Linked DNA regions of Homo sapiens: all the other regions are linked to region 2. The links are contacts of gene promoters, found by promoter capture Hi-C in blood cells and fetal thymus (Javierre and others, 2016). All regions are on one chromosome and are shown on one strand. Each heading gives the region's core, a stretch centred on a gene start or on the middle of the fragment in contact. The rest is flanking DNA. Distances are from core to core; before and after follow the strand shown.

Region 1 (2,700 bases), core at 96-2,595, 680 kb before region 2:
AGGGGTACACTGGAAAGTGTGAGCTGTATCCAAAGGGCAGGCCCCATTCTGCTCCAGTCAGGATGTTGCCTTGCAGGGATTCTGGCTCAGTGTGAGTGGGTTTCCTGATTTTCCAAAAGAAGTTGGAAATATGAGCTGGGCACAGTGGCTCACACCTGTAATCCCAACACTTTGGGAGGCTGAGGCAGGTGGATCACTTGAGGTCAGGAGTTTGAGAACAGCCTGGCCAACATGGCAAAACCCCGTCTCTACTAAAAACACAAAAATTAGCCGGGCATGGTGGTGCATGCCTGTAGTCCCAGCTACTCAGGAGGCTGAGGCAGGAGAATTGCTAGAACCCGGGAGGTGGAGGTTGCAGTGAGCCAAGATCGCACCACCGCACCCCAGCCTGGGTGACAGGGTCAGACACCGTTTCAAAAAAAAAAAAAGTTGGAAATACAAATTCCAATTCAAAAAATACTGAGACACTTTGTGGGGCAAAAAATACGAAAACCCAGGGCTGTGGGTCTCATTGCTGCTTTTCCCTGGGCCTGTGCCCACGCGATTTCTCTGCAGGACTCCCTCATCCCTGTCTGTGCCCTCCTGATCCACAAGCATCTCATGCCGACTTCCTCCCCTATCTTCCCTCACTCCCCCACCCGAGGCCATGGTCCTGATCTGTCCTTCCCAGGTTCATTCTATTTGCTTCCATCCAAGAATCCATCCCACTGTATTGTATCCCCTATCTGGCCACAGGCTGTGGCATCTGGGCAGCTCTCCTGGGTCTCAAAGGGTGCCTGGGGTGGGACTGGGGAGGCCACACCCTTCCTGGCAGTTGAAGTGGAGGCACCAGTTGGGGTGTGTTGGTGGGGAGCCCCAGCTGTGATGTCAGGCCTCACAGGGCCTGGGCTCCATCTGGCTCTTTGGGGCTGAAGGAAGGGCTGCATGAACCCCAAAGCCCCCAGGGAGCCATGGCCTCTTGGAGCCGCACCCCCCGACTTGGCTGCCTGGCTCTCTTACCTGTGGTGGTGAGGATGCTGGCAGCGAAGAGCAGGGCTGAGGGAAGGTCCCAGGTCCTGCCCTCTGAGCTGTTGCCCAGGGTGGAGACCCCATGGGCCTGGGTGGCCAGGGCAGTGCCCAGCAGCTCTTCCAGAGCTCCGGGTGGCAGGCAGGCCCTATGCTCTGCCTGGAAGGCTGCCAGCTCTGCCCTGAGCTCAGCCTGAAGCCTGCATGCAGGAGGCCCCTCCAGGGCCTGGAACACCACAGCCCCAAGCCCCAGGGCCAGCAAGTGGGCCACAACCAGGAGCCCGTATCGGGACCAGGGCCTTAGACCCCCCATGGCAGGCCGCTGGGGTGCTGTGGGAACTGGCGGCTCCACCTCAGGCACCTGGGAGGGGCTGGGCAGGGCGGGGCCAGGAGGAGGTGCTGTGTGGGTGGCTGGGACCCGGCTGGGATGGCTGGGGTGGCTGGGGTGTGAACAGGAGGGAGGTGAGCTGCATCACCCTTCCCAGGTCCTGGAGGCAAGACATTTGCCCATTTCACAGCAGCTGGGATGGTGGGGATGGGTGGAGGAAGGCGGCTGCGGTGAGGGGAGGAGGCGGAGGAAGCTGAAGCCTAGAGAGGACCTCACACTTATTCAAGGTCCTGCTCACTCAGGCACCCATACCACATTCATTCATTCATTCATTCATTCAAGTGCTTAGGGAAGAGGACAGGCACAGGTCCTTTCCTTCCTGGTGTTTACACAAGAAACCTCTTAGCAAAGAAACATGGCAACCTCACATTGTCATGAGTTCCATGAAGGAAACACCCTGGGTGATGGGAGAGCTCTGCGGGGAGCGGGGGGGTTATCTCACTGGGAAAGCTCTGCTAAGGAGGTGATATTTCAGCTGGGGAGTAAGAGGCCAGTGAAGGTAGGAATGAGCTTGGGGTGTGAGAGGAACAGAGGGCTGGCTGTGGCAGGGGAGAGTTGGGGGTGAAGGGGGGATAAGGACACAGGCCCTTGAGGATAAATGTGGTCCAGGGAGACCTACGCTGGGCTACTGTAGGCGTCATGGATGGAGTGATTTTGGCCTGGGTGGTGTGGTGGGAGAGGAATGGTGGCAGCTGGGAAGGATCAGGTGGGGGTGGGAGGTGGGGAGAGGACTCCAGGGTGCCCAGAGCACCCGGGCAGATGATACCCTTGCGCCCGATTGCCAGTTCTTCCTGAGAACGCTTTGTGCCTGCCCTCCTGACTCCCTGCCCCTGAACTGCAGACACAGAGTCTGGGCTGCCATGGGGCACCTGGGAGAGGGGAAGGGGGAGCCTGGGTTCCAACTCCTCTAACGTCAGAGGGGCTGAGGACAGAGGCCAAGGAAGGGACCCAGCCCTAGGGTATGGTGTGGGAGTGCCAGAGCCCCCATGGCAGTGTGAAGAGAATGGACAGAGGCCGAGGGAGGGACCCTGCCCTAGGGTATGGTGTGGGAGTGCCAGAGCCCCCATGGCAGTGTGAAGAGAACTGTCAGGGGTGCCAGATGCCATGGCAAGTCACCATACTGGGAGGTGGGTGGAACTTACTACTCTTTTTTTTGAGATGGAGTCTCGCTCTGTCGCCCAGGCTGGAGTGCAGTGGTGCAATCTCGGCTCACTCAACCTTCGCCGCCCGGGTTCAAGCTATTCTCCTGCCTCAGCCTCCCAAGTAGCTGGGGCTACAGGCACCTGCCACCACGCCTGGTTAATTTT
Region 2 (2,700 bases), core at 1-2,500:
AGACAGACCCATGCGCTGCCTGCCCACCGTGCCCCTTTGTCCCCATGTCAGGCGGAGGCGGAAGGCCCACCGTGCCAGAGGCTGGGCACCAGCCTTAACCCTCACTCTGCTAGCACCTCCTCCCTTTCCCCAAGGTAGCACATCTGGCTCACTCCCCACTCCGTCTCTGGAGCCCACCAGGGAAGGCCCTCATCCCCTGCCGCTACTTCTCTGGGGAATGTGGGTTCCATCCAGGATTGGGGGCCTCTCTGCTCACCCACTCTGCACCCAGGATCCTAGTCCCCTGCCCTCTGGCACAGCTGCTTCCTGCAAGAAAGCAAGTCTTTGGTCTCCCTGAGAAGCCATGTCCCTCGTGCTGTCTCTTGCCTGTCCCACCTGTGCCCTGCCCTCCAGCTTGTATTTAAGTCCCTGGGCTGCCCCCTTGGGGTGCCCCCCGCTCCCAGGTTCCCCTCTGGTGTCATGTCAGGCATTTTGCAAGGAAAAGCCACTTGGGGAAAGATGGAAAAGGACAAAAAAAATTAATAAATTTCCATTGGCCCTCGGGTGAGCTGAGGGTTTTTGCAAGGAAGTTGTGGTGGCCAAGTGTGGTCTGTGGTCTAAGCCCAGCCTTGGGGTGGGGGGATGGAACTGGAACCCTGGGCTTGGTGGGGTGCACGGGGGTCCTGGCTTGGTTTCTGTGTCCTAAGGCTGCTGGCAAAAGCCCTTGACCCCGTTTCCTGAGGCCAGGAAAGCTGCTTGTGCTTCTGTGGTCTGTCCCCAAGGGCCCAGCACCGTTCTGTCAGGGAAAGAGGCAGGCGGCCATCAGCTCATACCTGGCGTGCCGCCGCCAACTCCCGCGGGGCACACGGCAGAGGTGTGGGGTCGCGCAGCCGCTGAGAGGGCCCCCACTGCACCTGGCCCAACCTCCTTCAGCGCCCCCCAAAACCCCACTGCTCCCATTCAGCCCCTGTCCTGGCGTCATTGTGTGTCCCAGCCAGGTGCTTCTGCCGTCTCCGACAGTGACAAGTGCCTCGCACTTCAGCCTTTGCCCTGAGCGCCCGCCCGAGGGGGCCGAGTGCGGCTGTGCCGGTGGCTGGAGTGCCGAGGGGTGCGGGGTGCCGGGGGCGGCCGCGTCTACGCTGTCCGGAGGGTGAACGGCCGCGGGCTTGTCGGGGCTGGGGGTGGCGCCCGAGCCGGGCGGGCAGACGAGGGGCCCGCGGAGACCCAGCCCCGCCCGAGGCCGCTCGCGCGGCGGCCCCGCCCCCGGCTCCGCCCCGCCGGCTTCGCGGGCTGGAGAGCGAGGGAGCCGCGGGCGAGGGATCGCAGGATGAGCGATCGGGGCCCGGGCAGCCGGCAGCGGACGCGCCCCCCGAGCCCACCGGCCCGCGCCCCGCGCCCCCCACGGCCCCGCGGTCCCGGTCCCGGCCGCATCACCCACGTCCCCCGAGCCCCACGGGCCATGCCCGGCCGGCCCTAAGCGCGGGCCGGGGGGCGTCCCCTTGCGCCCGGGCCCCGCGCTGGCGCCCCCCGGGCCGCCGCCCGGCGCGGGGGCCATGGCGTTCACCTTCGCCGCGTTCTGCTACATGCTCACCCTGGTGCTGTGCGCCTCCCTCATCTTCTTTGTCATCTGGCACGTAAGGCCGGGCTGGGGCTGGGGCTGGGGGCGGGGTGGGGGGCAGGGGCCACGCGGAGCTGGAGGGACCCAGGGCGGGTGGTCTCAGAGCCCAGGGGAAACTTGCTATCCCCCAGCCGTCGGCTTGTCGGCTTCGCCCCCATTAACACCCCCCGTGGTCGGCTTTCTTCCCGGGGCCCCCCTTCCTCCGCCGCCCCCGCCTGTCTGTGTGTATGTCAGTCGGTCTCTGACCCCCTCCTCTGCCCTCGTCCTCTGCTCCCATGCAGCCCGTGAGGTGGGGGGTGGAATTCTGGCATTTTTGTTGCTTTATCTTCTATGTCCCCCCCCACCACCATCCAGCCGCCTCCATTAGTCCGTCGGGCAGTTTGTCTGTCTGCTGCCCCCCCCCCCCCGCCTTTGTGGGTTTTTCCAGCCAGAGTGATGGAGCTGGTTGCTATGGCAACTGCATCTGTTTACAGGACCCACAGATCTCAGAGTCCATTAACCCTTTGCCTTCCCAGCCCCCTCCCTGACCAAGCAGCAGTTGGCTCTCATCAGCCCCCAGAGACCTAGCCCCCACCACCGGCTCACCTTGGGTTTCCCTACCCCTCCTGTTGGGGGCTTCCCAGCCCCCCAGGTTTCCTCTCCATTTTCCAGCTTCCCTCCTCTTCCTGTCCCCCTTCCCCTTTGTCTCTCACATACCCCTTGGTCTGTCCCTCGCCCTGGCCTAGCCTCACACCTGGTTCTTCAAAATGTCCATTCCTCATCCTGCATCCGACCCATCGCTTCCCCCAGGCTCCCTCCTCCTCCCCTCCCGCTCCTCTCCTCCAGGGCCTCCTCTGCCTGGCTCCCGTCCCCTCACTACAGAACTATCAATCAGCCTCCAGCTGGTTGTTGGGGGCCCCTGGCCCCACTTTACTGCCCTCCGTCCCCACCCCCACCCAAACCCCGTGCCTGTTTCTGTAACAGCCTGCCCAGCTCGGCCCTGGCTGGCTCAGCTCAGCATCCTCTGCTCACACCTCCCGCGCACACCTCCCTGATTGTCATTCCCTTTCAGGGGTCCTCTTATCCCTCCCTCAATCCCATTTCCCATAGCCCTTCCCTCCTTC
Region 3 (2,700 bases), core at 1-2,500, 710 kb before region 2:
AAAACACCTCAAGCACAGAAAGAGCAGAGCAGAAAAGGAGATGGCTCAGGGCTGAGGTGGGCCAGGCATCCTGACCATTCCACCCACTTTCTCCTCTTTTTAGCTCTGAATGCCCAGGCTGCCCTCTCCCAAGCTCGGGAGCACCAGCTGGCCTCAGCCTCAGAGCTCCCCCTGGGCTCTCGACCTGCGCCCCAGCCCCCAGTACCTCGTCCGGAGCACTGTGAGGGAGCTGCAGCAGGACTCAAGGCAGCCCAGGGGCCACCTGCTCCTGCTGTGCCTCCAAATACAGATGTCATGGCCTGCACACAGACAGCCCTCTTGCAGAAGCTGACCTGGGCCTCTGCTGAACTGGGCTCTAGCACCTCCCTGGAGACTAGCATCCAGCTGTGTGGCCTTATCCGCGCATGTGCGGAGGCCCTGCGCAGCCTGCAGCAGCTACAGCACTAAGAGAAGCCCCTGAGAAAAACCCTCTAGAAAAACAGCTGTTCCTCTGTGTGGTTTGTTTTTTTCCTGGTTCCAAGTGTGCATGCCAGCCCCAGCTCCACTCACCTTTTTCCAGCTTTTGGCCTCTTCACCTCTCCACTCTGCTCTCCTTGACGCCCTGAGATGAGTTGAGCTTGTTTCTTCTCAGTTTCCCCAGTCAGGATGAGGGAGTAGGTAGAGGACTATGTGATGCCCCTTTTCTAAGGAAGAAGCCATAGCCTTTTCAAAGGTAGCAGCCAGAGGGGTGGACCCTAGCCTTGTCTCTGGCAGCACCTCTGCAGCCTCTTCCGCCATCTGGTGTCCATTCCCCACCTGGAAGTGAGGTTTTGTGTTCCGATCCCCTTGATAGATTCCCCTCCTTCCCCTGAGCATCCTGACCCTATCAGCCTATCCCATCTCATGCCCACCCCAGGTACTCAGACACCGACAGGAGTTTGTGGTGACCCCAGCGTCAGGTGGCACGTTAGGCACCAAGTGTGGACTTGCCAGTCTCCTGACTCCACTGTTAGATCATTTTCCTTGGGTGTGGGGGCGGGGCGGGGCGCGGCGGGGAGACGGGGTAGCAAAAAGAACCGTGAAGAAACCACGCCTGCCCCCTTCAGCCTTTTCCCCCCTCCGCCGCATTTTTCCATCTCCCCTTGAGTGAGTGGATGTCCCGTTGCCTTTTCTCAGCTTTGCGCGACGTGGTCCCACAACCGTTGCCTTTTTAAGAGAGGCCCGGCCCATCCAGAGGGGGTGGGGCAGAGGCGGAGTCTGAGGAGCTGGGGAAGGAACAAAGCGAGGCCTGCGGGCGGCGGCTGGGCTCCGGCGGGGCCGCGGGGTGCGGGGCCTGCGGGCGGCGGCCCGGGCGGAGCGTTGGAGGGAAGGAGGTGGCATCGCCGTCCGCGCCGGCCCCGGCCATGAACGGGCTGCCCTCGGCAGAGGCGCCGGGCGGGGCGGGCTGCGCTTTGGCCGGGCTCCCACCGCTGCCGCGCGGCCTCAGCGGCCTCCTTAATGCGAGCGGGGGCTCGTGGCGGGAGCTGGAGCGCGTCTACAGCCAGCGCAGCCGCATCCACGACGAGCTGAGCCGCGCCGCCCGCGCCCCGGACGGGCCCCGCCACGCCGCCGGCGCCGCCAACGCGGGACCCGCAGCCGGCCCGCGTCGTCCTGTCAACCTCGACTCAGCGCTGGCCGCGCTGCGCAAGGAGATGGTGAGTGGGTGGGCGCCGGGCCAGCTGGGCGGGGGGCTGACGCGGAGGAACGCAGGGGACTGGGACAGGCGGCCTGGGTCTCAGAGGACTTGCAGGCACCAGTTGGGTTGCAAGGGTTATGGTAACAATAATTAGTGATAGTTACCAATTATGGCAGTAGTTACCATATATTTTCAAATGTTTTGCTGACGTTACTTCATTTCATCCGGCTAAATGGATAACCCCATTTTTTGGGTGAGGGTCATGACTAAAGTTGCATAGCTTGCAGGTGGTGCCTGATGTCCACAAAAACTTCGTTTAGGAAGGTGCGGGGAAGATGGGCTGGGGCCCACTATTCCAGGGGGCGGGGCTGGGCTGGGGTGGCCTGGACCCCAACTCCAGCCCACCCTCAGTTGTCTGCAGGTGGGGCTGCGGCAGTTGGACATGTCCTTGTTGTGCCAGCTGTGGGGCCTGTACGAGTCAATCCAGGACTACAAACACCTGTGCCAAGACCTGAGCTTCTGCCAGGACCTGTCATCCTCCCTCCATTCGGACAGCTCCTACCCACCGGATGCGGGCCTGTCTGACGACGAGGAGCCTCCCGATGCCAGCCTGCCTCCTGACCCGCCACCCCTTACTGTGCCCCAGACGCACAATGCCCGTGACCAGTGGCTGCAGGATGCCTTCCACATCAGCCTCTGAAGGGCTGGGGGGCAGGGGGCATGCACCCATGCAAAAGGCTCAGAAACTCCCCCTCCGGCAAGCCCTCAGACTTCGGAGCCTGCGCCTTCCCCCCTACCGCCTCACCTCACAGGAGGGCCAGGCATGTATTCCTCAGAGGCGAAACTGCCAAACTCTTTCTCCTGTCTTGGGTTGGCTGGCACTGGGGCGGGCATCTAGGGTACAGCCTCTGCTCATGGCACTGGGCCTCCAGTTCTTCCACATGTGTGCACCCCCAGCTTGGCCAACCCTCAGCCTTGCGGTGGGGCCCGAAGCATCTTCCCTTCCGCTTGGCGTCTCTGGGATTGGGATGAGTGCCTGGCTCCCA

Evidence for each region. The method cuts DNA at HindIII sites, captures the fragments that hold promoters and counts their contacts. A CHiCAGO score of 5 or more calls a contact.
Region 1: the fragment with the promoter of KCNK7 here is called in contact with the fragment with the promoter of CNIH2 in region 2 in 1 of 17 cell types (naive B cells); the score reaches 7.0 in naive B cells.
Region 3: the fragment with the promoter of FAM89B here is called in contact with the fragment with the promoter of CNIH2 in region 2 in 1 of 17 cell types (non-activated CD4 T cells); the score reaches 5.0 in non-activated CD4 T cells.

The regions. Positions count from the first base shown.
Region 1 is chr11:65,594,455-65,597,154 of GRCh38, forward strand. KCNK7 (potassium two pore domain channel subfamily K member 7) reads right to left here and starts at 1,346. Exons shown (of 3, transcript NM_033347.2): 1 at 1,000-1,346. The coding sequence starts at 1,318. The HindIII fragment of the contact is 15,508 bases long and covers 1-2,700 here.
Region 2 is chr11:66,276,925-66,279,624 of GRCh38, forward strand. It overlaps CNIH2 (cornichon family AMPA receptor auxiliary protein 2), which reads left to right and starts at 1,251. Exons shown (of 6, transcript NM_182553.3): 1 at 1,251-1,613. The coding sequence starts at 1,533. It overlaps RAB1B (RAB1B, member RAS oncogene family), which reads left to right. Exons shown (of 6, transcript NM_030981.3): 6 at 1-568. It overlaps LOC107984340 (a long non-coding RNA gene), which reads right to left and starts at 1,601. Exons shown (of 2, transcript XR_001748274.1): 1 at 1,571-1,601. RefSeq lists a silencer at 1,027-1,356. The HindIII fragment of the contact is 7,021 bases long and covers 1-2,700 here.
Region 3 is chr11:65,571,288-65,573,987 of GRCh38, forward strand. It overlaps FAM89B (family with sequence similarity 89 member B), which reads left to right and starts at 1,251. Exons shown (of 2, transcript NM_001098785.2): 1 at 1,251-1,673; 2 at 2,076-2,700. The coding sequence starts at 1,383. The coding sequence ends at 2,354. ZNRD2 (zinc ribbon domain containing 2) reads left to right here. Exons shown (of 4, transcript NM_006396.3): 4 at 104-601. The coding sequence ends at 447. RefSeq lists a silencer at 1,122-1,571. The HindIII fragment of the contact is 12,518 bases long and covers 1-2,700 here.